2 separate regions of the Homo sapiens genome follow, and region 2 is linked to region 1. The links are contacts of gene promoters, found by promoter capture Hi-C in human tissues and cell types (Jung and others, 2019). All regions are on one chromosome and are shown on one strand. The core of a region is centred on a gene start or on the middle of the fragment in contact, and the rest is flanking DNA. Distances in the headings are between cores, read along the strand shown. Region 1 holds the start of CTRC (chymotrypsin C). Region 2 holds the start of FHAD1 (forkhead associated phosphopeptide binding domain 1).

Region 1 (7,305 bases), core at 1,690-4,189:
CATGTGTGTGTGCATGTGTGTGTGCGTGTGTGTGTATGTGCGTGTGTGCGTCGCCTGTCCACGTATACTTGTGAATCCATGGGCATGTATACACAGCTGAGATGCGTGCTAACAAGTTGCTGTATCTCTGAGTATAAATTGATGAGCTCCTACAAGGAGACGCCCAGTTAATTCATTTTCCCAAGTTGATCAAGGGACATGAGAGAAACTGAGGCTCAAAGAGGTTGCTCAGGGTCTGGGTCATCCATTCTGTCACTGAGATGGAAACCAGGTGTCCTGTCTCCCCGCTTCAGACCCTGCTAATTTCCAAGACCTATCACCTAGCTCAAGCCATATCTCTGCTTATGTTCCCAGTTTCCAGGCTAGAATGACCCTTTGCAAGGCTTGGCAACCAAAAGCCCTGGGTCTGAAGCAGACTGGCCAGTAGCCACTGATAAACCTGTATCATGCACAACCAACCTCCAAAATGAAACAGAAAATTCCCCGCAGGCTGAAGTCCCCAGACACCCCAGGACTGAGGCCTTGATGTCACCATAGCTGAGCAGAGCCCCCAGTGCACATTCCCACTTTTATCTTTCTTAAAAAATTAAACCTATTGATTTTTATACTACCAAGGTAACTATGTTTGTTTTAAAAAAGAATTTAAGCTGCATAAAAATGTGTAGTTAGAGGCCAGGCATGGTGGCTCACACCTGTAATCCTAGCACTTTGGGAGGCCTATGTGAGTGGATCACTTGAGGTCAGGAGTTCGAGACCAGCCTGGCCAACGTGGTGAAACCCCGTCTCTACAAAAGGAACAAAAATTAGCCAGTGGCACTGGTCCCGGCTACTCAGGAGACTAAGTAAGGTAGGAGAATTGCTTGAACCTGGGAGGCAGAGGTTGCAGTGAGCCAAGATCGCACCACTGCACTCCAGCCTGGGCGACAGAGCGAGACTCCAACTCCATCTCAAAAAATAAATAAATAAATAAACAAACCAGCCTGGCCAACATGGTGAAATCCGGTCTCCACTAAAAATACAAAAATTAGCCGGGCATGGTGGTGGACATCTATAATCCCAGCTACTCGCGAGGCTGAGGAAGCAGAATTGCTTGAACCCAGGGGTGGAGGTTGCAGTGAGCTGAGATCGCACCACTGCACTCCAGCCTGGGCCACAGAGCAAGACTCTCAAAAAAAAAAAGTGTAAGTTAGAATCCTCCTTCACCCCCAGATCACCGCTATGAATGGCGGGGTGCGTAGTGCTCTGAACTTTTCTATCAGGAAGGAATTCCTAAGGTGGCCAGTAGGCCCAGCTCAGAAAATGACCTTCAAGGGGAGCTCAGTATGAGTAGAGGGGAAACGAAAGACAGAATCTAACCAACCAGGCTGAGGCCAGGCCTTGGGGCGAATGGATCAAACCACATGTTCCAAGGGATGGCCAACCCCGAATGCCGGAGGCTCTGGTAGAATTTCTGCTACTCAGTGCTTTGGGCCCTCAGATCTGCCACTGACCTTGACATTCAAGTTACAGAATTGTAGAACTGAAAGGAGCCTGAAAGTCCATCTGGTCCTTTTGCCCATTTTAGAGATGGGGAAACTGAGGACCTACAACTAAGCTGACTCCAGGAAGGAATCTGGCCAACTAAGCACCTTCCAGAGCCTGCTGCATCCCTGCCTCCAACCACAGCCCTGGAGGCAGGTGCAGGAGTGCATCAAGCCCAGGCAATTAGAAAGATGAGACAGAGAGAGAGCCAGGAAGCGATCCAATAGCACTAGAAAGGCAGAGAAGGAGCAGCATGTCTCCACAGCTTGAAGCCCCAGGCTGGTGTTAGAAGCTTTGGCTTCAAAGTCTGGCTCTGCTGCTGCCCAGCCGTGTGACCCTAGATGGTCACTTACCCGCTGAGTCTCAGCTTCCTCACTTTTATTTTATTTTTTTAGAGACAAGGTCTTGTTCTGTCACCCGCGCTGGAATGCAGTGTGGCACGATCACGGCTCACTGCAGCCTCGAACTCCTGGGCTCAAGCGATCCTCCTACCTTGGCCTCAGGAGTAGCTGGGACTACAGGCATGCACCACTGCGCCTGGTCCTTTCTCATCTCACCTCAGAGCAGATAACCGCGTCTATTTCATGTTGTTGGAAGAATTAAGTGAGATAATGCAAGAAGAATTGAGCGCAATGCCTGACACACAGTAGGTGCCCAATAAATAACTAAAAAGAATAAGGTAACGGCCTGTAATCACACCTGTAATCCTAGCACTTTGGGAGGCTGAGGTAGGCAGATTGCCTAAGCTCAGGAGTTCAAGACCACCCTAGGCAACAGGGTGAAACCCTGTCTCTACTAAAATACAAAAAAAAAAAAAAAAAAAAAATGGTGGCACACATCTGTAGTCCCAGCTACTTGGGAGGCTGAGACAGGAGAATCGCTTGAACTCGGGAGGCGGAGGTTGTAGTGAGCTGAGACTCCAGCCTGGGTGACAGAGCAAGATCCTGTCTCAAAAAAATAAATAAAATACAAAAGATTAACCTGGCGTGGTGGCAGGCGCCTGTAGTCCCAGCTACACAGGGGGCTAAGGCACGAGAATCGTTTGAGCCCGGGAGGTGGAGGTTGCAGTGAGCTGAGACTGTGCCACTGCATTTCAGCCTGGGCAACAGAGCAAGACTCCATCTCCAAATAAATAAATAAATAGTATAAGGTAGGGAGAGAGAATGAACACACACGTCAAACAGAGTGGGGTGGGGGATGCCAAAAAGCACTGCAACTCAGAATTTTCTGTTTCAGGATATTTGGAAAATCCATACTTCTAAGAAAGCCCTGTCTCCTGCCCAAATTAAACAGTAACCACCCAAGGTCAGGGAAAGGGCCTTATCAGAGCAGGTTTCTCTCCAAGGGGCGGTTTGGCCTTGACCAGGTGCACTCACCTGCTCCTGCCTATAAGTGTGCCCCAGCCCATCCCGATGGTCAGCCAGTCCTGAGCACCTAACCATGTTGGGCATCACTGTCCTCGCTGCGCTCTTGGCCTGTGGTAAGCGGTGGGGTGGGGCTGCAGCTAGCAGGCTGTGAGCTCGGGCTGGCCTCCAGGGCAAGGACGGGATGGGGAGTGGGGGGGCCTCTGCTCTCCAGGTAAGACACTTTGGGGTCCCCTGTGGGTTCAGATGCTACCAACCAGCTGTGTGTCAGACAAGCCACAGCCTGCCTGCCAACTCTGTTTCCACATCTGCAAAACAGGGAAGATGATCTGACGTGTCCCCAGTTAGAAATGAGGTGTGGAAAGCACCACGCAAGGGGGAGGGACACGAGATGCCTCATCCTGGGTTCACCCCAGGGACCATCGGGGTCTGCCTTTCCCAGCATTCTCTCTCCCTTGAGGATTCTCCATTCCATCATTTTGGTGGCGTTTTCCCAGATTAGGAGCCCAGGGACTTAGCTTAAATGCCACTTCTTCTCTGCAGGACCTGGAAAAGTCATTTCACCTCTCTAAATCTCACTAACTTTTTTGGCAAAGGAGAGCACTTAATGAAGAGTCCTTCCAGCTAACAACAACAACAGTAATAATAGCAGCTCCTGTTTCCTGTGTGTTTACTATGTGCCAGACGCTATGCTAGGCCCCTTACATGTAGGAGCCAATTTAATCCTCAAAACAACCTTAAGAGGTAGGGTCTATTGCCAGGCATGGTGGCTCACGCCTGTAATCCCAGCACTTTGGGAGGCCGAGGTGGGTGGATCACTTGAGATCAGGAGTTTGAGACCAGTCTGGCCAACAAGATGAAACCCCGTTTCTACTAAAAATACAAAAATTAGCCAGGCGTGGTGGCGGGCACCTGTAATCCCAACTACTCAGAAGGCTGAGGCAGGAGAATTGCTTGAACCCAGGAGGAGGTTGCAGTGAGCCGAGATCGCGCCATCAAACTCCAGCCTGGGCAACAAGAGTGAAACTCCGTCTCAAAAAAAAAAAAAAAAGAAAAAGAAAGAAAAAGAGGTAGGGTCTTTTCATAGCCCCATTTTACAGATGAGGACATCGAGGTTCCGTGCGACTTAGTATCTTGCCTGACATCACATGGCAGGTTAGTGGAAGAGGCAGAATTTGAGTCCACGTCTGTCTCGCGGAACAGCACGTGTTCTTGACCGCTCCACACAGCTTCCCAGCTATAACAGTGGATTTACTGCTCTCTCACACACACACCATGATGCAGGGGCCTAAAAACAGACAGAAGAACACAGGTGTACCGGGCACTCGCACACATGCCAGCCAGTTTTGTTTTGTTTTGTTTTGTTTTTTGAGATGGAGTTTTGCTCTTATCACCCAGGATGGAGTGCAATGGCACGATCTCGGCTCACTGCAACCTCCATCTCCCAGGCTCAAGCGATTCTCCTGCCTCAGCCTCCTGAGTGGCTGGGATTACAGGCATGCACCACCACGCCTGGCTAATTTCTGTATTTTTAGTAGAGACAGGGTTTCGCCATGTTGGCCAGGCTGGTGTCAAACCCCTGATCTCAAGCGATCCACCCGCCTTGGCCACCCAAAGTGCTGGGATTACAGGTGTGAGCCACCGTGCCCGGCCAAACGCTTTCTTTTTTATGTGTTGTCTAATTCAGTTCTCAGGGCAAACTCACCGCATTAGTGTGATTCTTCACATTTCACAGAAAGGGAAAACAAGGCCTAGAGACCTGGGTGGCTTACCCCCGTGACACAGTAAAATATCAACCCCGTGTCTGCCCAGCCCCAACTCTGTGCTTCTTCCACCTGCCCACCCTCCCACCCCTTTCCCCGTGGGCTACCAGCCCTATTCACTGGTTCTTCTGGCCTCCTGTCTCCCCAGCCTCCAGCTGTGGGGTGCCCAGCTTCCCGCCCAACCTATCCGCCCGAGTGGTGGGAGGAGAGGATGCCCGGCCCCACAGCTGGCCCTGGCAGGTAAGCCTGTGTAGGGCTGGGAGGTACAGATAGAGAGGGTGGCGGGGTGAGGGTCCCAGGGACCTGCAGGCTGACACACAGCCCTCCCCACCCTCCTGCAGATCTCCCTCCAGTACCTCAAGAACGACACGTGGAGGCATACGTGTGGCGGGACTTTGATTGCTAGCAACTTCGTCCTCACTGCCGCCCACTGCATCAGGTGTGCGGGGATGATACCCTGAGACCTGGCCATCGTCCGGGGGCGGAAGCCTGATACTCTGCTTTTTCTGAGCAGCTTCTCCGCACTCCAGGCACTGGGCTACATAATCTACTCACACCCAGTAACTCAGTTGTGCATTTAGTCAGTCAAGTATTCATTGTGCATCTATTATGTGCCAGGAACCAGCAGTGAAGACAAAGTCTGTGCTCTCGGGAAGCTTATATTTTTGTGGAAGACAGAGCGGCAGACAATTAAACAAATATATAGCATCTCAGGTGATTTAAAATAATACTAATAATAAGGTATTGGCCAGGAGCAGTGGCTCACGCCTGTAATCATAGCACTCTGGGAGGCCGACGCAGGCGGATCACCTGAGGTCAGGAGTTCGAGACCAGCCTGGTCAACATAGTGAAACCCCGTCTCTACCGAAAATACAAAAATTAGCCAGGCGTGGTGGCGGGCACCTGTAATCCCAGCTACTCGGGAGGCTGAGGTAGGAGAATCACTTGAACACGGGAGGCAGAGGTTGCAATGAGCCGAGATGGCGCCACTGCACTCTAGCCTGGGCAACAGAGTGAGACTCTGTCTCAAAAAAATAAAAAATAAAAATAAGGTCAGAAGAGGACAAACAGAATGAGGGGTTCAGTTTTAAAAGGGATGGCCAGGGGAAGAGCTGAAAGGGGGATATTTGGCAAATATTTGGGACATTTCGGAGAGCTAAAAGGGGGTTATTTGGGCAAAGGCCTGAAGGAAGTGAGGGAGGAAATCATGGATCTAGGAGAAGGGTGTTCCAGGCGGAGGGAACAGCCATGCAAAGCCTTGGAGGAGAGACCTGTCAGTATGGTTGAGAAATAACGCGGAAGCCGGTGTGGCAGGGGCAGCGTGTGCTAGAGGAGAGTGGGAGGTGAGCTAGAGAGGAAATAAGTGCAGGTCAGTATCAGGACCTTGGCTTTGACCCTGAGTAAGATGGAGCTATTGGAAGGGTTTCTGAGCAAAGGAGAGTTGTGGGCTGACATATTTTTATATATTCCATAAAATATTTTTAATATATTTTATAAAAAATATATATTGCAACATATTTCATTTTATATATTTCATATACACTTTTTTTTTTTTTGGTAGAGACAGAGTCTCATTTAGTGGTACCATCATGGTTCACTGTAGCCTTGACCTCCTGAGCTCAAGCAATCCTCCCACCTTAGCCTCCCGAGTAGCTGGGTCTATAAGCACACGCCACCACGCATTCCCAGCTAATTTTTCTTCTTGTTTTTTGTTTGTTTGTTTGTTTTTTAACTTAGAAGCCCAAACCTCACCATAAGTTTTCTATTTTTTGTAGAGATGGGGATTTGCCATGTGGCTCAGGCTGGTCTCAAACTCCTGGCCTCAAGCAATCCCCCCGTCTCGGCTTCCCAACGTGCTGGGATTACAGGCATGAGCCAACGCACCTGGCCGGAGATATTTTTAAACCCACACTGCTGGGTTCAGAATAGACAGGAGTAGGCCAGCGTACAAGTGAGAGATAGTTAGATGGATGCCGCAACTGTGCAGGCAAGGGCGGTGGAAGCTTGGATGAGTTTATTCTCACAGCCGCCCTGGGAGTAAGTTCCAGCATTGCCTCCCCCTTACAGATGAGGGAACTGAGGCACAAGGCTACACAGCCAGGAGCAGCAAAGTCACAACATGAACCCAAGTCCCTTGACCCCAAGTCCCAGGCCCTTCCCCTCACCCTGGGAAAGGACAATGGGAACACTCTCTTCCCCCAAAATGAGTCCCACTAAAGCCCCGAGCTCCCTCTCTATCCCACTGGCTGGCAGGACCAGGGGGCCACCCTGACCTGGACCCCTTCCTCTGCCCAGCAACACCCGGACCTACCGTGTGGCCGTGGGAAAGAACAACCTGGAGGTGGAAGACGAAGAAGGATCCCTGTTTGTGGGTGTGGACACCATCCACGTCCACAAGAGATGGAATGCCCTCCTGTTGCGGTGAGTGACAGACTGCCCATCCCACAGCCACTGGGGGCAGTGTGGAAGGAGGGGTCCCCAAGACGGAGCCGCAGAGCCTGTCGCACCCCATACCTGACACCCCATCCTCACCCTGGAAAGCCAGCAAATGACTGTCTTACACAAAATGGCAAAATGCTAAGTGGAGACAAATACCCCCTCATATCCCCCTCATTGGCCAAGACTCCCAGGAAAGTCCACAAGGAAGGCCCCCCACA
Region 2 (7,305 bases), core at 1,978-4,477, 190 kb before region 1:
AATAAAAGGTTAACTGTAGGCACTGCCAAGAAGCACAAGTAATCTAGAAACATCTATTTTTTTTTTTCAGGGACAGTATTTTTAATGCCGCATCACTGTTTAATTGCAATGTACAACTCTCTTACTCAGCCCAGGAAATTATATCATAAAACCCTAAGTTATTGGGTATTTGATTTTCTGTTTTTGAAATGAAAATGGATGATACGGAATTGGGTTTCAAGAACTTTGCACACCCTTGAGATAACAGTGGCATCCTGAGGGACAGAGGATCCAATTAAGATTTGGCAACTTCGGCTCCACTGATTCTGAGTGTCAGCTTTGCTCTCAGTTTAGGATTTTTTGTTTTTCATTGAGATATCAGCTAACAGCAACAGATGATCTCTCAAAGCCTGGTGAGGGGCATGGGCTGTTCCAGCTCATGGCCAGCCTGGGTTTCACTGGGGTCTGTCTGATAGCAAGTTTGTGTCCTGGGTTCATGTTAATGACAAGAGTTTGACCAAAGACAAGCATGGAGGGGTGGTGGTAGGGATGGAGGTGGTGTTCAGGCCTGGGCAGGGGACTAGAGAAGCCGACATCCTGGGGCGAGGACAGGTCAGCCCAGCAGTCCTCAGAGGACAGGAGGCCGGGCTTCAGAAGGGTGGCAGGGGCTTCCCCCTGCATATTTATTCATTCAGACATTGTTCTAGGGACTGGTGGCACAGCAGCAAACAAAACATGAAAAAAGAAATTCCTGCTTTCATGGAGTTTAGATTCTACCAGGGGTCAGGGAGGGAGACACAATAAATAACATAAATAAATAAAGAAATAGTATGTGAGTTGATGATAAGTGATGTATTAGTCCATTTGTGTTGCTATCAAGTAATACCTGAGGCTGTGTCATTTATCCAGAAAAGAGGTTTATTTGGCTCACAGTTCTGCAGGTTGTACAAGAAGCATGGTGCCAGCATCTGCCTCTGGTGAGGGTCTCAGGCTGCTTCCACTCCTGGCAGAAAGTAGCGCCTGCATGTGCAGAGATCACATGATGAGAGAGGAAGTGAGAGTGAGCGAGGGGGAGGTGCCAGGCTCTTTCTAACAATCAGCTCTTTAGGAAACTGATAGAGTGAGAACTCATGCACCCTACAGGAACAGCACCAAGCCATCCATGAGGGATTCGCCCGCATGATCCAAGCACCTCCCGCCAGGCCCCACCTCCAACACTGAGGAGCAAATTTCAACATGAGATTTGGAGGGGTCAAATATTCTAACTATAGCAAGTGGCAAAAAGAAGGGAAGAGGGATAGAGTGTTGAGGTTTTTATTTTGTTTGGATGTGCTTTTGTTGTTCTTATTTTTATTTGCTTTTGTTGTTCTTATTTTTATTTGCTTTTGCTGTTCTTATTGTTTTTATTTGCTCTTTTTTGTTGTTTATTAGATTTCATGGTGGTTGTTTCATTGTTTCAAAAAACCAATTTTAGAAAAGATGATATGTGAGTAAAAAGCTAAAGTAAAGAAGGCAAAGGAGACTCTTGAGGGGAAGTGCATTCCAGGCAGAGGAATGGGCAAGAGCAAAGGCTCTGAGGCAGAAACGTGTGGGAAGCTGAGCTTGACCCTCTCTGTTCCTGTGAAGCCATCACTTGGGTCCCAGCCCTTGTGGTCCCTCCTAACATTTTACGCCTAGAATCTTTCTGGTTGTAGGAAACTGATCCAGGCAGAACCTTCCAGACTGAGGGCCTGGAAGAGATTTGTAGGGACAGGCTCCGGGAGAGGTCTCTGCAGTTCAGCTGCATAAATCAGGGTTTTGTCAAGCTTGTTGCAAATGCACATTCCTGGATTATGTCCCAGGCCTGCTAAATCAGAATCTCTGGGGTCTGTGCCCAGAAGTCCGCATTTCTAAAAGCCTCCAGGCACGTTTGAGCATCTTCACTGTATATTCCACCACAAATCGATGTCCATGATTTCTCTCTCAGATCCTCTTCCTATTGACTAGGTGTATTAGTCTGTTCTCACACTGCTATAAAGTAATTCCTTGAGACTGAATAATTTACAAAGAAAAGAAGTTTAATTGACTCACAGTTCTGCACTGCTAGGGAGGCCTCAGGAAACTTACAGTTATGGCGGAAGGCCAAGGGGAAGCAAGGAAGCTAGCATGTTGTAACATGGTGTAGCAGGAGAGAGAGAGAGCAAAGGGGGAAGTGCCACACTTTTAAACCATCAGATCTCATGAGAACTCACTCGCTATCATGAGAAAAGCAAGCGGGAAGTCTGCCCCCATGATTCAATCACCTCCCACCAGGCCCCTCTTCCAACACGTGGGGAGTGCAATTCGAGATGAAATTTGGGTGGGGACACACAGCCAAACCGTATCACTAGGGTAGAATGTGCCATAGTTCATCTCTCTTAGAAAAACGTTTAGAGTTTTTCTTGAGGTGTCTGGTCAGCCATTTCCTGCCAGTGAAAGGAATCACTCTCCAGGTAGAGTCAGCAGGAGATAGGATTTCCTGCTGGAGATAGTGGCGGGAGATAGGATTTGCACATCTGCTCAACACACTCCATCCCGCGAGTCCTGTGCCGGCTGACAAGCGGTTTCTTAAGGACAGTAACTGTTCCAGGTGTATTCTGGGATCAGCGTGTGACACTCATAGGACTCAAAAGATGTTTGCAGAGATAGAGAAAGGGCAAAAGAATGAATAAATGTCACTCTTAACAGGGAGGAGCAGAGGCAGCAGGATTGTGAGTTTGGAAATATTTTTTCCCCAGCACATGGAAGAAATCCTCATTCTTTCAAAATTTTTCATTCCACCCCATCCCTTTCCCAATCCCCACCCCACTCCCAGAGATCCCCTCTTCTTACTCTTTCTATTTTCTGGCCTGTAACGGAAAGGACTAGAGATTTGGGTAGGGCAGGGGGCATACTAACCTCCAAGGGTCTCATGAGTTCAGCTCCATCAATCTCCTACCTCTCCCTATCGCCCCCGACCCTCCCTCAACGCATCCAGCTTACAGTGAGGGGTAATGGAAAGGATTCTTGAATCAAATCTCCTCCCTGCTCCTTCCTCGCTGTAAAACCTTGGGCCATTTCTGTGACCTCTGAGCCTCCGCTTTCCTATCTGTGAAATGGGGCAGGCTCGTGGGGCCTGGAGCATTCAGCAGGCGGTAACCCAGTGGGCGTTCCCTGCACGGTGCCACGCCCCCTCTGCCGCGCAGGCCACGCCCTCATCTATTAGGCTGGACCCCGCGGCGCCTGGCGGCGTTGCCATGGCAACGCGCGTACACAGGCCGGCCGGGCGGGCGGGGTGCCGGGTGCGAGCTGGAGACTCCGCGGGAGCGCGGCCGGGAGGCTTCGCCCCGGAGCTGGCCCGACGCCTCCCGAGCTGGCAGGGCTCTCGGCGGAGGTCGGAGCGTGGGCTTCCTCCTCCCGCCAGGTGAGTGCGGCGCGGGAAGGGGTGGCGGGCCGAGACCGGGGACCGGAAGGGGCGGCCCAGCGAGGACTAGCCCTGGCAGGAGGAGGGGTGGCTCCCCGGCCCCATCCTCCTGGATCCAGGCTCCGGTCCCCAGGAGCACCCCAGTAGCTACCCCAACACCAGCCCCTCCTTTCCAGATGCAGGCCCCACCCCGCCCGCGGAGGAAGCCCCCGGGAGCCTTAGACCCTCCTTGGCACCAGCCATGCCACTCTGGGAAGTCCTGGGGGTTACAGCTGGGATTAGGAGGGGCATCCCTGCTGCCCCTGACTTACGAACGACACCCACCCGGCGGTCAGAGAGACTCCCCCCTTGCCTAACCTCTCCCTTCCCAAATACAACACTGAGGAATTTCTAGGGCTCCCAGGCCACTTAAGATCTGGTAACCCCTCAACAGAAATTTTGCTTCTCTATCTCACTTGTGACCTATAAGCAGGGAGTGCAGATGCCTGAAGCTCTTTTGCTCTTTTGCATGGTCGGTGCCCTGTGTCTTAGAACTAATTTACAGAGTTTAACGCATCTAATCACTTTCTACAGTGTTTTCAGGTAGGAAAGTGACTGCACAGGGCAAGATTAAAGTGGGGAAATAGGGCCCAACCCATTCAGCTAAAGAAATAGACTTTTTTTTTTTTTTCCAGAATGTCATCTAGGATAAATACTGAAGGGGAAAATGAAAGGTAGTTACTGTCAGAGGTTCTTAGGCTACCCTGACTTACTTTTAAGCATTGTTTTGTACTTTCATTCATTCATGATTTACTGAGCACCACTATGTGTCAGGCATGGCAGCGCTGGGGGCCAGAGGGGAGTAATGAACAGACTGTGAGGAAATGCAAAGGGTCTGAGATTTTTACACTACTTGCAAGCTAAGTTAGCCTGCCACTGCTTAATGATGCTAGCAGAAGACCAGAGACTCCAGGACCAGAGACAAAGGATGTTATTACTCACAGCACAGCAGGCACTGTGAGCTCATGTTTGCGTTGGTTCCCCTTGCCCTGCAAGTACCCCGGGGTGATGCAGGACAGCTCAGGTGGATGCTGTGCACACTGCGAGTCTGTTTCCCAGCTAAGGAACCCCAAGCTCAGGAAACTCCAGTCTTTTAAAAGGGGCTGCTAGCCAGTGCCCAACCTTTGCCCTGGAAGGAGATGACCTTTTTTTTTTTTTTTTAATTGAGACAGAGTCTTGCTCTGTCTCCCAAGCTAGATAGAGTGCAGTGGCACAATCTCAGCTCACTGCAACCTCTGCTGCACGGTTTCAAGTGATTCTCCTGCCTCAGACTTCCGATTAGCTGGGACTACAGGTGCAAGCCACCATGCCCGGCTAATTTTTTTGTGTTTTTAGTAGAGACAGGGTTTCGCCATGTTGGCCAGGCTGGTCTCAAACTCCTGACCTCAGGTGATCCGTCCACCTGGGCCTCCCAAAGTGCTAGGATTACAGGCATGAGCCACCGTGCCCAGCCAGAGATGACATTTTTATCATAAATCTGCACTCTGCCCTGGATAGGGACACTATCCCTATCCTCTCAGGATATTTGCCCTACAGATGTCCTTGGAAGATTGTCTGGAACAAAATCTGTCAGTGTCTTTGCTCTGAAGATGGGTACAAACACAGGAAACCCATGGAGAATTGAGTTTAACAAAAACAACACAGTTTGGGCTCTCTTGGAACGTATCTCAGTGAAAGGGAAACAGTAAACAGCTAAGTAAAGAACAAGAAAATGACAGAGAATGATAAGCTCAAGGAAGGAGCCACAGCAGTGACACATGCTAGCTAGACAACAAAGTGACTGGTGACGCCTTTAGCTGGGGTGGTCAGGTAGCTACCGCAAGGCACCAGCTGTGGAAACATCGGGGGGAAGAGCTAAAAAAAAAAAAAAAGCCAGTCATTCAGATTTGGGGTTTTACTCTGGAGGCATTTCCTGTGGCTTTCCCACAAAAGAGACATTTCTCGAAAGTTGACTTTAGATTACTTTTACTTTAGTTTGGATGTGGTGCTTGATGATGTAGTCCTCTGCAATTGAAGATTAATAACTCAGGCAATTTGAGGGCAACAGGGCATGGTTCTTTTGGAAAAAGAAGTGTCTTTTTATCCCTATTAAAGACAGCAGACTTAAAAATAAAATTCTCATTATATGAAAGTATTAATATTTCTGAGGATTTCTCATAGGCTTCGGAATTTACAAACATAAACTATCTGGCTTGTTTTTATTTCTCTTACTCCCAAGGGTCTTTTCTTTTTTTGCAGAGGATAGAATTCTGGTGTTAAGGGCTATCTGTTATTTCATGTCCTAAGTGTCAACAAAACAGTGACAACCCCACTATCCCAAGTGACAACCTCTCCCTCCCCCCACTCAGTCACTCTCTCTGCTCCCCCATCCCATCCCCTCCCCACCCAGCAGTGATGGAGGTGTGAAAAGTTGAGCTGCCTGAGGATTATGTAGTGGTGACATGCAATGGCAATCTCCCTGCCCGAATGCTAGGGGACCTTAACCTCTCTGCATCTCAGTCTCCTTTTCTGTAAAGTAGGGACAATAATGACACCCACCTTGCAGGGTTTCTCTGAGGATGAAAAGAGTATATTCAAGGAAAAGTGCCTGGCACTTACTAAGGACTCCATAAATGATGATAGAGATGATGATGAAAAGCAGAGCCAGCCCCGAGAGTCCGTACCACCACAACTAGTTGATTTTTGTTTTTACCCATAGTCCAATAATTTGTCATTTCACTGACTTTTCAATTGAATGGAAAAGAGAGAGACTGTTGTTGTTCTTTGACAAGGAATTGAGGTGGAGGATATCACACTGCATCTTTAGACGTAATCTCAAATCGGATTCAAGCATCGAGATGAATTACTGTCAATATTTTAGAACTTTCTGAAGTCACTGAAGTGTTTGTCTTAAAAGATGTGTATAGAACTTATTTCGAAATGCACCACAATATAAAATGGATGGACACACGGATAGATGGAAAGATCTGTGATAAAGCAAATATGGCAAAATGCCGATGGTAGAATCTAGTGGTGGGTACATAGGAGCTCATTATCTGCTTCTTTCAGCCTCTCTGTATGTTTGACATTTTTATAGTAAAATGCTGGGGGGAATACTGTGCAGGGTCCTGATTACATGGCTGAGCTATAATCTTGATATTTTGCCTTTAGAAGTAATCTTTTTTCCCCTAACTAAATAAATGAAGAAATACAGCGATTTAAAAAGAAAAACATCATCTAATGCCTGCCTCTCCAATGATAACTCTTTAAGAAACTCCAAAAGCAGACATGGTGGTGTGCCTGTATTCCTAGCTACTCTGGAGGCTGAGGCAGGAGGATCAGTTGAGCCCAAGAGTTCAAGACTGCAGCGAGCTATGATTGTGCCACTGAACTCAGCCTGGGCAAAGAGCAAGACCTCATCTCTAAATATGAATGAATGAATAAAATAAGCTCTATAGAAGTTTAGGGTTCCTTGGATCAGAGTTTGAGAAGCCCAGGTTAACAACACTAATAAGAGTAGTACAAATGAGTGTTCAGTGTGTGCCAGGCACCATTCTAGATACCTCACGTATATTATTGCATTTAACCCATTTTAGGCTGGGTGTGGTGGCTCCTGTCTGTAATCCCAGCACTTTGGGAGGCCAAGGCAGGAGGATTACTTGAGCTCAAGAGTTTGAGACTAGCCTGGGCAACATGGCAATACCCCGTCTCTTTAGCCAGGTGTGGTGGTGCACACCTGTAATCCCAGCTACTGGGGAGGCTGAGGCAGGAGGATTGCTTGAGCCCAGGAGATCGAGACCTCAGTGAGCCAAGATTGCTCACTGCCCTGCAGCCTGGATGACAAAGTGAGACCCTGTCTCAAAAAAAAAAAACAAAAAAAACCACCC

What was found. The method cuts DNA at HindIII sites, captures the fragments that hold promoters and counts their contacts. A contact is called where the count stands out against the background at its distance.
Region 2: a contact is called between the fragment with the promoter of FHAD1 here and the fragment with the promoter of CTRC in region 1, in 1 of the 25 tissues and cell types used here (adrenal gland).

What each region holds. Positions count from the first base shown.
Region 1 is chr1:15,435,504-15,442,808 of GRCh38, forward strand. It overlaps CTRC (chymotrypsin C), which reads left to right and starts at 2,940. Exons shown (of 8, transcript NM_007272.3): 1 at 2,940-3,001; 2 at 4,797-4,888; 3 at 4,990-5,087; 4 at 6,944-7,069. The coding sequence starts at 2,962. The HindIII fragment of the contact is 5,601 bases long and covers 377-5,977 here.
Region 2 is chr1:15,243,996-15,251,300 of GRCh38, forward strand. It overlaps FHAD1 (forkhead associated phosphopeptide binding domain 1), which reads left to right and starts at 3,228. Exons shown (of 34, transcript NM_001391957.1): 1 at 3,228-3,400. RefSeq lists silencers at 3,063-3,236, 3,254-3,493. The HindIII fragment of the contact is 8,594 bases long and covers 544-7,305 here.